Linked DNA regions of Homo sapiens: regions 2 and 3 are each linked to region 1. Evidence: promoter capture Hi-C in 16 types of primary human blood cells and fetal thymus (Javierre and others, 2016). All regions are on one chromosome and are shown on one strand. The core of a region is centred on a gene start or on the middle of the fragment in contact, and the rest is flanking DNA. Distances in the headings are between cores, read along the strand shown. Region 1 holds the start of RCAN2 (regulator of calcineurin 2). Region 2 overlaps RCAN2 (regulator of calcineurin 2). Region 3 has its middle 22 kb from the start of CLIC5.

Region 1 (4,604 bases), core at 1,112-3,611:
CCTCAGAACATGTAGGTGTCCTCTGAATGTGACCTTTCTGCCATGTGTGTATGCTGTTCCTTCAGTGTGGAATACCCAGCCCCTTCTCTAGACAACTCCTACCACCTATTGGGATCCAGACCAAATGTAAACTCTTCTTTAAACTCTTCCAGATTCCCTCCACTCTTTCTTCTGTTGGCTCCCATTAAACTTGTTTCTGTCTTCATTAAACACTCATGATGTTGAATCATTACCATTTATTTTCTTCTCCTTTTCTGCTAAATTGATTTCTGGGAGGCATGGGCCTCATTCTTTTAGCCTCTGGCACAGGACCTACAAAGCACACAGGAGGTGCTCAACAAATAATTATTGAATTGATCGAGTGGATGCTACAGAACGTAAAATAGGAAAATGAGACCTCGGTGATTGTCAATGTTAGTCTCAATAAAAAGAATTTGTGATATGTATGACTGTCTGCAAATGATTACACAAGTGGTTTTTAACACCGTGATGTGCACTTACAAATGAGAAAGCTCTCGAGTTCCCACTTCTGTCTGTTACACGTTCATCACTGGAGAAAGAGTCATGCCCTCCCAAATTTAGGTGAGTTCTGGAGGACCTGCACACACTAAGCATTTTGAGAGCTCTCAGAATCATGTAGCTTTAGATGAGAACACTTTTCCCTCACAAAATTCTATGGACTGGACTCAGGTAGTAGATGCTCAGTAAATGCTGATTTGATTTGCAGTGGATTTGAATGCAAAGTGCAACTCACATTTTAGACTAATTGAACTCAATGGCTGATCATACTTAATATAATAGCTCTAAGGCTAAAGAAAATCAATGACTACACTGAAAAGCAGCCAAATGCTCACTCTCCTGCCTAGTTGACAGTCAATGCTGACCTGCCTCTTGATCCTTTCCAGCTTTTGGGTATTTCCAACTTCACTGTGCCCCCAGAATGCAGAGGCCGGTTAGCAAGTGTTGCGTGGTACCTTGTGGTACATTTGTTCTTCGTTTTGAAGTGATGTAATAAAGGATAACAAAGGTGTGAAACTTGAGTTGCACTGTTAAAGTTGTCCTACATTTCCTAAAGCCTCCCCTCTGCATGATAAGTTGAGTGAAATTCTGGCTGAAGGGAGAGAGAAGTGTGAGCTGGAATGCTGTGACATCCCTTCATCTCCAATTGTGGAAAACTGTGGGAATGCATATTAAAGGAACCCCAGAAACTTTTGTTTTTACTAAACTGAGACTTAAAAAAACTTCATTTGGCAGTTGAACACCTCTATCCCATTGTAAGAAACAGGAAAGATTCAAAGCATGCATTCTGCTATAATTCATTTTGGGATAAGAAATAGGCAGAAGTACCTCGAAGAATAAATCATTAACTAAAAGGCAAACCGAGGCACCCTGGAAACCAGCGAGACCTGGAGGCGGCCGAGGGATCAGGCGGCTGGGATTTGCCTGTTCCCTCTGGTGACTTCTGGAGCGAAGCATCCCACAGGCAGGACGAACCCGGCACACTGCGCTCCGCTCCATTTCACTTTTCAAACTTGAAGTTATTTTTAGATGACCCAAGGCCGCTAATCCCAAGCAGGACAATTCTCAGCCCGCTGCACCTCAGTGCACCTACCCCCTCCCCAGCCTCTGCATTGGGAAGAAGGGATCTCTCGATCTTCTTTGCTCTCTGCATCCAGTTAGTCTCTTCTAGACCCTCTCTAAGCCTCAGTCCCGGGGATCACAGGCGTCATCCTCGCTCCTTCACTTATGCACCTGCTGCTGCTTCCAGGAAGGCAAACCCCCGGGCCACGGGCAGTGGGGAAGGGGCTCCTTTGGACCCGCGCCCCCTAGAGGGGGGTCGCGGGAGATCTCCGTCCCCACGGCCGCAGCCGGGACTGACCACAGATCTGGAGACAAACCCCACCCCCGCCACTGCCCCCACCCCCGCCACCGCCCCCGCCCCCGCCCCCGCCCCCGCCCTGCACCCAGACCCGGCCCGGAGACCAGATCCCCGCCGCGGACCCCCGGCACGACCCCGGGGCTGCTGTCAGCCCCGGCGGGACGGGGTGCCTGGGCGAGCCTGGCCGGCGCGGTTACATAACCGACCTGCTGGGCGTCCGCGATGCGCCGGCGGAGGCGGAGGCGGAGGCGGCGGCTGGGGCGTCTACGGGGGCCAGCTGCTAGCGCGCGGCGCTGCCTGCTCACCTGCCCGCCGGTGCGAGCGCGTGGGGGCGGCGCGGTGCCCGCGGGCCTTTGCGTGGGGCCGTACGCGGCGCGGCGCGCCCCGCCTCCCTCTCTCTGCCGCCGTGGGTCAGTGGGATTCTGCCTGCTGCCCGCTCCTCCCCGCAACCTCCGCCGCCGTCACCCGGGACAAAGCGGCTCCAGGGAGGGGCTGAGCCGGCGGCTCTCGCAGGAGCCGGCGGAGATGGGCGCGTCCCCAGCTCCGACTCATCGGGCCAACCTCCAATCAGACCCAGGGAAACCGAAAGCCCCTGTCTGGCCTCTTCTCATCTCCTCCCTCCTGACCCGGCGCCCTCCCCAGTCCCCTACCCACCGCACCTCCGGGGCTCTCACCCTGCCCTCAGCCCCGCACCCCCTCCTTTCCACTTCAGGTGCCCGGGAGGGCGCAGGAGCCTCCGGGCACCTGGCGTGGGAGCCTGGCTGCAGGAGTCCCGGCCTCAGCGGGAAGAGGCTCCTCGGGGTCCCATACTAAGCTGAGGGTGAGGGGGCAGCGACAGCCCAGAAGAAATGGTCAGAGAAGCAAACTGTGGTGGGGGAGTACTGGGAGAAAGACTCTTCTTACCAGATGTCTGAGCCCCCCGACTCTGGCTAACTGAGGAAATGTCGGGGAGCCCCTGGATGGTCCTCCCGGGCTTCTGCGCTTGGTGGGCGCTGGCGCCCTCTGGCTGGAGCCCTGCGCCCGGCCCAGCCCAGGCCGCTGAGGGTGCCCTGCGCGGGCTTCACAGCTTTGCCAGGATTTGCAGCCATCAGACCTGAGGACAGAAGGGTTCGGGCTGCAAGGAATCCTATTGTGTGAGAGCCATGACACAGTGAGTGGGAGGTTGGTATCCTACAGCAAACGGGACTGAAGGTGAATCGCAATCTAGGGTAGATCTGTTGCTCAACAAAGTTAACCCCAGTAGAAGTCTCTGCTTTACGGAATAAAGCAACTCAAATGGGTAAGGAAGCCTGTGGCTTACGGGTGGCACAGATAGGAACAGGACTGAGTCTCATGGCAAGAGAATGTGAATTATGCAAAAGATCATAGGAGAGTGCGGGAAATTAAAGGAAGGAGGTGTGCAGACCAATCTGAGGGAGGGAGTGAATAACATTTAAATCAGGTTTGTGTTCTGTCATCTTTCGAATTGCTGCATAAATAAGCCGTTTTCTTTTTGCTTTTTATGCCTTTTGATTTTCTGATAACAATATTACGATTGCACTGAAGCAGTCCATTCACAATCATTCTTCACTTACCCACACTACGTTGTTTTTTTCCAAAGTTGACATACAATCACGTTTTGTTTGTTTTCAACAAAAAAAGGTAGACGAGACGTTGGCTCTTCTCTCTGATTAATCTGCATTAACATAAACACAATTTCAGAATTGAAAATGACCTTAGGCTTCCCCTCGTTCAGCCTTCCCCTGGATGCATAAATCTGTAATTAGTCGTTGATTTAGATAATTGCCATTTGGGTTAGAATTGTCTGAAAGGGCATTCTTAAGTTGAGCAAAAACTTGCCTCCCTTTAATCATTAGTTCTCCCTTACTTTTTGAAGCCAAAGAAACCAAGTCAAATTCCTCTTCTAACTATCTTTAAAATATGTAAAAATAGCTAGCATGTCTAATGCACTCCAGGATCCCCTTTCTTTCCAAGTAAAGCATCCCCAACCCTTTAAACAAAATCTCACTTATTATTAGTGAGTACTTCCTAGAATCTTCGTCAAACTGATGACTTTCATCTTAACAGGGACTATTTATTATTTTGTGAATATACATTTACAAATAAAATTTTCAGCTTATAGAAGCAATATATTCATTGCAGAAATTTTGAAAAGTTGGAAAAACACAGGATTTAATCTGAGAACTAAATGAGGTAATACATGTAAAACACCTAAGCACAGTGCCTGGCACACAGTGATACTCAATATATGTTAGCTGTTACCAAAATCAACATAGCCATTTTCCTAACACCAAATATAGATATTGTTACTTTTCTAGATGCTGTTTCTGAGTTCTCATAGCCACATATTCCTCCTTCTACTGCTAAGAGAAATTCTGTGTTTGTCAGTTTGTGTGAAGAAGGAAGCATAATAAATGAGGAAAAAAATGAAAAGTGACAAACAGCCTCATGTTGTTTACCTTGAGAAGAACAAAATGTTACTAGCAAAACAAATGTTAATGGCAAGAAGAAAATACAGAGAGAAAAAGAGTTTATGGGATGGGGTCTGAGCTTGAAGAGGATTTTGGAGAGCAGGAGTGAGGCTAAAGGGTAGCTAATGTTAAGGATGGTGGTAAATAAGATCAGAATTTTGGTTTGCTAACATTTATTGAGCATTTAGTATATGCCACGCTCCAAGCCAATGAATTTTTATACATTAATTCATTTCACTTTCATGGCAACTCTA
Region 2 (4,682 bases), core at 1,261-3,760, 260 kb before region 1:
GGTATAGTGCTGTATGTATCGATGCTAAGTAAGGTTCACTTAATTGTGTGGGTTCTGTTCTCTCTAAAATATTTTGGCATTTTAATCCATGTCCCCGGGTAAACAGATAATCTGCAGACATTGCTAAGGAGAGAAATCTACAACAAACCAGCTTTATCTGAGGGTTGTATCAAAGGCTCTGGGTCAGAGTGGGCAGCTCTGGTTGGGGGTGTCTCTAAGCAGTGGTTCTTAAACACTGACAATTAACTGGGAGTGCTCATTAAAAAAAGAGTTTAGGTCGGGCGTGGTGTCTCATGCCTGTAATGCCAGCACTTTGGGAGGCTGAGGTGGGCAGGTCACTTGAGGTTGGAAGTTCAAGACCAGCCTGGTCAACATGGGGAAACCCCCACCTCTACTAAAAATACAAAAATTAGCTGGGCATGGTGGTGCATGCCTGAAGTCCCAGCTACTGCGGAGGCTGAGGCATGAGAATCACTTAAACCCAGGAAGTGGTAGTTGCAGTGAGCTGAGGTCATGCCACTGCACTCCAGCCTGGGCCACACAGCAAGACTGTCTCAAAAAAAAAAAAAAAAAAAAAGAGTTTACCAGTATAGGGAAGCAAACCTGCAAATTCCGATTTAGTAGAATCTACATGTGTACCCATCAGCCCTAAGTGCTTCTCAGTGCTTCTGTGTTTGGGTGGTGACGGTTACATGGAACTCCCAGCAAGAGGCTGTGGCCCCATGAGGATACTGGCACACACACAATGTGCCCCCTCCCTTCCTCCATTCTACATATTTTTTTGCTGGAAAATGGTAAATGGTAACAGTGCAGGTAGAGGATAATGGAGGGATGGAAGCTGAGAATGCATAAAGGAAAGGAGGTAAGGAATCCTGGATGGCTTCTCTGGCGCTCCCAGCCACCAGCTCCCGTTCATCTTTGGTGTTCTCATTGTTGTTCAGGAGAGAACATCAAGTCACTCAAAGTTCCACGGTGAACAATGATTGAGTTAACCGCATCCAGGGTTTCTCAAATTTTGTCTTTCCTTCAGGAACTTCTTGCAATGCTGAATGAAAGACACCATCCAAAGAGAGACAGAGAAAGAAATGTTTGCTGAGTCATCAAATATGGTGGTGATTCTTGTTTTTATGTATAGAATTTTTTTTTAAGTTCTTACATTTGCAGGGGAAGCCCCTTTTGAAGAAACACTGGTGGCCACTGTAGTTTCATTCATTGCTCTGTGGATGGGGAGTGCATTGAGGAAAGGGGGATGGCCTCTGTCATCCTCAAATGAGGAATAGAAAGGAATCTGCAGCAGAGACCCAGAACCTGGGGTTGAGATGAGGGCAAGGCTCAGGCCAGAGAATTCGGAGATCTCAGACACCCTTCCCCTTTTTCCATCTGTTAGCAAGAAGCTGGCCATTTTAAAGAAATTGTAATAAAATACACCTAACAAAGCTAGGCCTTTGATTAAACCTTTTTTCCCTGGCTGAGATGAAGAACACTTCTTTTTTTTTTTTTTTTTTCTTGAGATGGTGTTTTGCTCTTGTTGCCCAGGCTGGAGAGTGCAATGGCACGATCTTGGCTCACCGCAACCTCTGCCTCCTGGGTTCAAACGATTCTCCTGCCTCAGCCTCTCGAGTAGCTGGGATTACAGGCACCTACGATCACACCCGGCTAATTTTTTGTATTTTTAGTAGAGACGGGGTTTCACCATATTGGCCAGACTGGTCTTGAACTCCTGACCTCAGGTAATCCACCTGCCTCAGCCTCCCAAAGTGCTGAGATTACAGGCGTGAGCCACCGTGCCCGGCCTGAAGACACTTCTTTTGCAATGCATTTACCACTTTAGAAGTGGTTGCTTTCCTCTCAGAATAGGTGTGTTGGGGGAACACTCAGAATGGGAGGGCAAGCAGGGAGTCCACTCTGTGTGCAGGGTGCAAAGCAACTTCCACATCAACTTAATACCATCAGATTGCTCAGTAGTAGAGACATTTTATTGCTGTGATCCCATTAACTCTGACATTGCACTGTTCTATTCTTGGACACTTTCTTACTATCGAAAGCCAGCAAAGCTTAACAGCTGCTGAGAACCACAAAATAAAAAGAAATAGCTTTGGTCTTGTTGGATTGAATTTTTCTTTTTTTGGCCTCTTTTTCCCTTTGGGCTTCAACTATTTCCTCTACCACAAGGGCTGACGTCAATGCTGTCACCAGGCACATGGACCAACTGGGCTTGTCTGGGGACAGAGAGTCTGTCAAATCTTACCCACACAGGGTGGGAGGTCCCACCATGGTGCAGTGAGAACAGACCAATGGAACCAGCATTTCTCTGAAAAGACAAGCAGAGGGTTGACCCATCACATGCTCACTCCTCTGCCAGTATTGAAACTGTCCTCTCCTTTGTGTGCAGAAAGGAGGCCAGGACCAAAAGTCACCAACAAGTGCATTGGTCAGGGTTTTCTACCTATTCCATGAAACAAACTTTCAGCCAATTAAATGAAAAACCTTTTAGCACATGGTTAACGTTAAATTCTCATTCAGGCCTTTGAAACTGACTGAGGTTTGGCCATTGCTTAAATTAGATGCCAAAGTTCTGTCTCGTCTTTTCCCAAGTGGCTGGAGACAGGTTTGTGACAATGTCCCAATTCCTCTATGACTGGAGGAGGGAGTGAGGGTGCCCATGGGCTGTTTCCCATTCTCAGGAGGGAGGAGGGTGAGTCCCTGTGCTGACTAGGGGCTGGGAAACTTGGTGACATGGTACAACCTCACTTGCCACAATTGCAGAGAAATGTGTTGGTGGCTGGCAGTCCAAGTGCCACTGAGTTTCTCTCTCATGCCACCTTGGCTTACGGGCCATGACTTGGCCACCTCTTAAATTCTTTCTAAAATAATCAGTATGATTATGCAAAGTTTATAAAAATCAGCAAAATTCAGACAAGGTAAAGGTAGAGAGATGAAACAGAGCTACATGTCTATGTATTAGAGAAGCTTTTGAGATTCATTATTTAGATTCCTAATAAGAAAAACTCTATGATGGAAGGAAGGGGAAATCTTCCTATAAGTTTAGTGCCTGCTGGACAAAGTCTTTGTATGTGTACTGCCAAGCAATAGATAGAATCCCAGAACTAGAGGCTTTGAAAATACAGCCACATCTAACAGGCAAGGCCAAGCTTTGCTCTGCTCAGCACCTGCTGCCCTTCTTTCCAGGACATTCTTTCTCTTGCTCATCATGAGCCCCAGTTCCTGCCCTATGAGGAGCTACATATCCAGGCCTGATCTCACACATGCATCCTGACTTACTGACGTCTCTCTACAAGTTGACTACTCTTTTCCAAACTCACATGTCTAAAGTAGAATTATTTTCTCTGCCAATCTAGGTTCCGTTACCAGCTATCACGCTTCTTAGAATTGCCATCATTCTTCCAGCCTTCTAGGTGCAAATCCTTAGAGTCAGTCATCCTTGAATTTTCTCTCTCTTTCATCATTTGTAATCAGTCACCAAGCACTATTGAACATTGCTTGTCAAACCTTCTCTGCATGCTCCTTCCCTACACACCCCTTGTTATAACCCTATCCATGACTAACCCTCCCACCCAAAATACTCTTTGCTGGTTTCCCCACGACAGGAACTAACTTCCGTGCCAGAATAAGCCACCTAAGACAACAGTTGGAGAGATCACCTTATCACATATGAGTAATGTGACTCTGAGAAAGTTATATAACATTTCTGAATCTCAGTTTTCCTCATCAATGAGAACAACACTCATATCACTGGGATACTAGGAAACAGACATATGTGTCAAATACTTGATAAAGCCCTCTCCCAAGATGCATGCTATGATTATTTAGGGCGATATTATTTTGGCCACTGTTGCCCCCAAGTAATTTCTGGTTTCCAGTATGATTAACTAATCTGATTACATCACACAATAGTCAAAGAATTAAGCAGCTGAACAATTGCAAAGAGCTTTTCCTCAGTGGAGACACCATTGCAAAGAGCAGTAAGGGGTGAACGATAACAGGCTGCATCCCACGGTAGTGGGTATCATATAATCTGGTCTTCAAAATGAACCTATCCTTTTTCCTCCAACCACCACTTCCCCTTTCTCTGTCATCACTGGCAATTTTCTCTCCTTTTTTTCCTCTTTCCTAACCTTTTCTATACCTCTATTTCCATGAGACAGAAAATCTTATGTTGCCGTTTTAATGAGATCTCTGATTTTCTTTTTTTTTTTTTGAGATAGAAACACCCATTTATAATGCTTAATTATATCACCTTTGATATTATTCATTAGTTATTTCCTCTAGCAATGTGTTATATTCCAAACCACTGAAGTCAAGACTTAACCTTTTGTGACTGCTGCAGCTTAAGGTACACATTAGTGTTCAATGAATATGTGATTGATTTATGAAGAGCATCACGCTTGGTCATTACTAACATACTTGAGTGATGTCTGGTATGTACTCACACGTGAATATTCTTCCTATAGTTTAACTTGTGTAAGTTTTAGCTTTTCAACTAAGTGGAAAACCATTTAAAGGCAAGCATCTATCCTCTTATCAGCATTCTATCAGTGCTAGCACACAGTAGGTGTCATAGAAACTCACTACATTCCCTAAACATAATAACAATTGCTTATGGAGCACTTACTAAATGCCAGGCACAGGAAAGTCTGTAACTACTTGGCATGAAATAGATC
Region 3 (4,357 bases), core at 1,079-3,578, 450 kb before region 1:
AACTTACTCTAAAGGACAATAGTTTGACTGGGACACTGAGCAGACCCAGGGCTGTGTTGCAGCCAGAGCTGGTGGTTTTCTTTTTTCTTTTATTTTCTTTTTTTTTTTAAGATGGATTCTCCCTCTGTCACCAGGCTGGAGTGCAGTGGTGCGATCTCAGCTCACTGCAACCTCTGCCTCCTAGGTTCAACTGATTCTCCTGCCTCAGCCTCCCAAGTAGCTGGGACTACAGGTGCGTGCCACCACACCCAGCTAATTTTTTTGTATTTTTAGTAGAGATGGGGTTTCACCATGTTGGCCAGGATGGTCTCAATCTCTTCACCTTGTGATCTGCCTGCCTCGGCCTCCCAAAGTGCTGGGATTACAGGCGTGAGCAAGCATGCCCTGCCCAGAGTTGGTTTTTAATGACTCCTCCCCACCCAAAGGGCCTCCCCTGCACCTTACTTGTGCTCAAATTCTCAAATCCCACCTTGCTTGGAGGCCTTCTCTTAACGATCTTTCAAACTCAGGATCGCTCCTATTGTTTCATTTGGCAACTATTTATTATTTGGCAGTTTATTTATTTTACCCCTTTTGTTTAATCCCAAATTGTGTTTTATTATTAGTTTTCCTTTCATTCTTGTCTTGTCTCCCCACCTAGACTGCAAGGTCTTTTTTTTTTTTTTTTTTTTTGAGACGGAGTCTCATTCTGCCGCCCAGGCTGGAGTGCAGTTGGCGCGGTCTCGGTTCACTGCAAGCTCTGCCTCCCAGGTTCACACCATTCTCCTGCCTCAGCCTCCCGAGTAGCTGGGACTACAGGCGCCTGCCACCACGCCCAGCTAATTTTTTGTATTTTCAGTAGAGACGGGGTTTCACCATGTTAGCCAGAATGGTCTCCTTCTCCTGACCTCGTGTTCCGCCTGCCTCGGCCTCCCAAAGTGCTGGGATTACAGGCGTGAGCCACTGCGCCAGGCCGACTGCAAAGTCTTTGAGAATAGGACCACATCTTACAGTTATTTGTATTTATTCACAGTGTATACATAGTGCTGGAAATGTGCTCAGTATTTGTGGAATAATGAATACCTATTGAATGAATTCAGTGGCATTTTATAGTATCAAATGTTTTGCTGGTAGATTCCAAAGGGTTTGTAGTTTCCATACTTTATATGTTTTGTAGTATAAGAATTGTGATAGCTTGTTTCAAAAATAATAAGGGAAGTCTTGTTCTTAAGAATCACTGCACTCCAAATTCTCTATCTCCTTACTTAAAAATTTAAAATAAGATAATTAAAGTCTCCTTAGTATAGTCTATAAAAGTTGAAACACCAATTTTGAGATTCTTCCAGAAGAACAAGCAAGAAAAAAATACCTTCCCCCATTTTTTTTTCATCCTTAGTTTAACAACCCATATTCAACCAAAGGTCTTCATATTTTTCATACAGATGCCATGTGTCATTTCTTTTGCTTCCTTCATGCATATCCAAGGACCTTCATCATAAGAAGGACATCACTGTCATTCTGGCCGGTGAATGATTATTCATTTTTCCCCCTTTACTTACAACATGCTAAAGAGCTCTTTTGTATATCTGTGTCCAAACCTTGATTTGGTTCCAAAATCAAAATTACAATCTTTTGGTCACAATTTATCCACTGAATGGCATGCTCAGTCAGCTTGAAGGAGCAGATTGCTTCAGTTGTATTGTTGGGTGGAAAGGGCTGAGAGAGGGGGCCAAAAGACTATGCTCAGTAATAAATTAATGGAAGAACAAAGGAATGAATAAATAAATAAGTGAATGGATCACCTAAAGAATGGCACCAATGTCAGAGAGCTTCCTTGGTTTGCTGAACCAAGTTACCTTGAAACTTGATACATGTCACTTAAACTTCCTGATTTCCTTTTGCCCCAAGATGATGGCAATATCACCTGTCCTAATTATCTTACAGAATTATTTGGGTATGAAGTAAGATAATATGGGTAAAATTTTTATGTGTTGGGCACCCTATTTTGAATCAGGTGTCATTTAATGCTGAGGACAATAATTCCAATTAAGTATCAGTAGCACTATTCATTGATAAGGAAACCATGAATTGGAGAAGTTAGATGATTTGCCCAAGGATGAATATTCATTCATTCCTTACCTATCTTGGGTGTGCACCAGGGAAGTGGTAATTGCGGGCTAACTGAAGGTACAAGGGGGCTGAATAACTACAGAATCACAGGAAGGATTGGTATTTGGTTACAGGTAGGGATTCACCAAAAGACATTTTGCTGTGTGGGTGGAAGATAATACAATTACATTGAGAAGATTAGGCAAGTGACAATAAGCCTCAGGGAAAGAGGATGAGACCTAGGCCTTCAGATAGAGCCTGGGATTGGCCTCAGTGGGACTTTTTGTATTCATAGGACTCACTAATACTGGCTTATTATCTGGTAGAGCTCATTGGCCCAGTCCCTCTGGTAGCTATTCTTCAGTATTAGATATACTAATTCTCAAGTAGAAGGGACCCAGGAGCTCACTTGATCCTATGCCTTCATTTTTTCCTTTCACTTTCATAAATGAAAAAAAAATGAAGCACAGATAGATGTTTTGTCCAGTCAGTTAGCAGACTGCATGGCTGAATAATATTTGTTGTATAAATGAATGGATTTTGAACTCTAACTACAAAATCTAGGCTTTAGACTGAATGGCCCTGCCTTTCAGAGAGGTGCTTCCCACCCAGGTGGGTCCTCATGCCCCATGATCCCCTTAGTTGTGCTCTGTCCTTGGGAGAAAGGGGACAACCCAGGCCTGCATTAGGTTGACTTCCCAGAGGCCCTTCTCTTGGATGATTTTCCAGCTTACACCATTCTTCACTGTTACTCTGCTAAAGTCAACATGTAAGAGCCATGAACAATGGAAATGAGAGTGAAAAAGAAAAGGAGAGAACTTAAGAAAGGGAAGTTTACTGGCATAAAAACCCTACTTCATGTCAACAGTTTTAGAAAAATTCAGTCAGTTCTAGTGGGCTCAGCCAGACTTAATCTACATTAATGAAAACCCACGTGTCTGGAGATTCTCTCTAGCACTCTCTTTCCCAGATTGGTTCATCTGGGGACATGCCTTTCTGAAACATTATGGCTTTCAGAAGATTTCCTAGTTTATACTAATTTAGATATTGTTTTCAAGTAACAGAGAAAATTGCTACAGCATCTGAACTATTTATCTTCCTAGATGTTGTAGTTAGAGCAAAAGCAGATGAGTTGGGAAAAGATAAATTCACTAAAATTACTTGTATCCTGGTATTAAGGTGATGAATAACTTATGATGATGTAACATCTATGTACTATGGAGATAAGAATATCATTAAATGCATACATAAGAATTTAGCTCTCAATAAGAAACTTATTTTAAAAGGATACAATCTTATAGGAATAAAAGAATACTATTTATAAATGAAGAATTATAACTCATTCATGCATAGAAAGCCAAATATTCTGAAGATAACAAAACTCTCTGTTCTTACAATAATAATTAAAATCTCCATAGTATATTCTATAAAATCTGAAACACTGATTTTAAGATTCTTCCAGAATAACATGAGGGAAAATATACTAAATTTATTTTTTCTAAAGGGATTGGTATTTACCTTCTGGATTTTAAAATATGTGACAATTACCAAAACATCATGACATTCAGTTAAAAGCAGGAAAAAGATGGGTGGAGACAATAGATATTTCCAAAGTAAATTTAGACCATAATAAGAACTTATTACATTAAAAAAACCAGATATACATAGGCAAGAAGTGATCAGTATTTAATACAGAGGACAATCAGGTCATGGTGCAGAGACGGCATTAGATTCATTCCTCATATTATATATTATAATAAATTTTGGTCAAAGCAAAATAAACATAAGCATAAAATAAACATAAAAAGAAAACGAATAAAATAAGCATATTATTTTCAATTAAAGAAGAAAAAACATTTCTGATTTGCTGAGATATAATTATAAATAAAACAGATATGTTGGAATAAAAAACAAAAGGGATTGTAAGGAAGTTAAAAAATTGTAAGTTATAAATGTTAAAAAGGAAGCTCTACTCTTAAGAAATGAACAGAGAATTCATCTAATTAAGGTCAGTATTCAGCTTTTCTTCAAAATGAGATCATAGGAAATAAATGGAGGGCATACACATAAGGAAATGCAGACAATAAATCAGCACATGGAAAAATGTTCAGTCTCAATAGCAACTAAAGAGATGTAAACAAAAAACCTTTAAAACACCACAGCATATCAGTTAAGTAACTGTAAACCCTGGCAATTCAGACAATGAGCTTTGGAATCAGATAGATGTAGATATGGATCCTGCCTTGCCACTTTTTAGCTGTGTCTTTGA

The links. Contacts are between HindIII fragments. The CHiCAGO score rates a contact against its expected background, and 5 or more counts as called.
Region 2: a contact is called between a fragment that was not itself captured here and the fragment with the promoter of RCAN2 in region 1, in 2 of 17 cell types (total B cells and naive B cells). The highest score is 6.0, in total B cells.
Region 3: a fragment that was not itself captured here is called in contact with the fragment with the promoter of RCAN2 in region 1 in 1 of 17 cell types (megakaryocytes); the score reaches 5.2 in megakaryocytes.

What each region holds. Positions count from the first base shown.
Region 1 is chr6:46,489,088-46,493,691 of GRCh38, forward strand. It overlaps RCAN2 (regulator of calcineurin 2), which reads right to left and starts at 2,362. Exons shown (of 5, transcript NM_001251974.2): 1 at 2,086-2,362. RCAN2-DT (RCAN2 divergent transcript) reads left to right here and starts at 2,965. Exons shown (of 3, transcript NR_125837.1): 1 at 2,965-3,040. RefSeq lists silencers at 2,325-2,414, 2,925-2,984. The HindIII fragment of the contact is 5,722 bases long and covers 1-4,604 here.
Region 2 is chr6:46,232,235-46,236,916 of GRCh38, forward strand. The region is part of intron 4 of RCAN2 (regulator of calcineurin 2); the gene reads right to left. The region is part of intron 1 of LOC105375079 (a long non-coding RNA gene); the gene reads left to right. Among named protein-coding and RNA genes, the nearest start is that of ENPP5, 64 kb to the left of the region's middle. The HindIII fragment of the contact is 916 bases long and covers 2,053-2,968 here.
Region 3 is chr6:46,035,656-46,040,012 of GRCh38, forward strand. It overlaps a transcript of CLIC5 not described here. Among named protein-coding and RNA genes, the nearest start is that of CLIC5, 22 kb to the left of the region's middle. The HindIII fragment of the contact is 6,541 bases long and covers 1-4,357 here.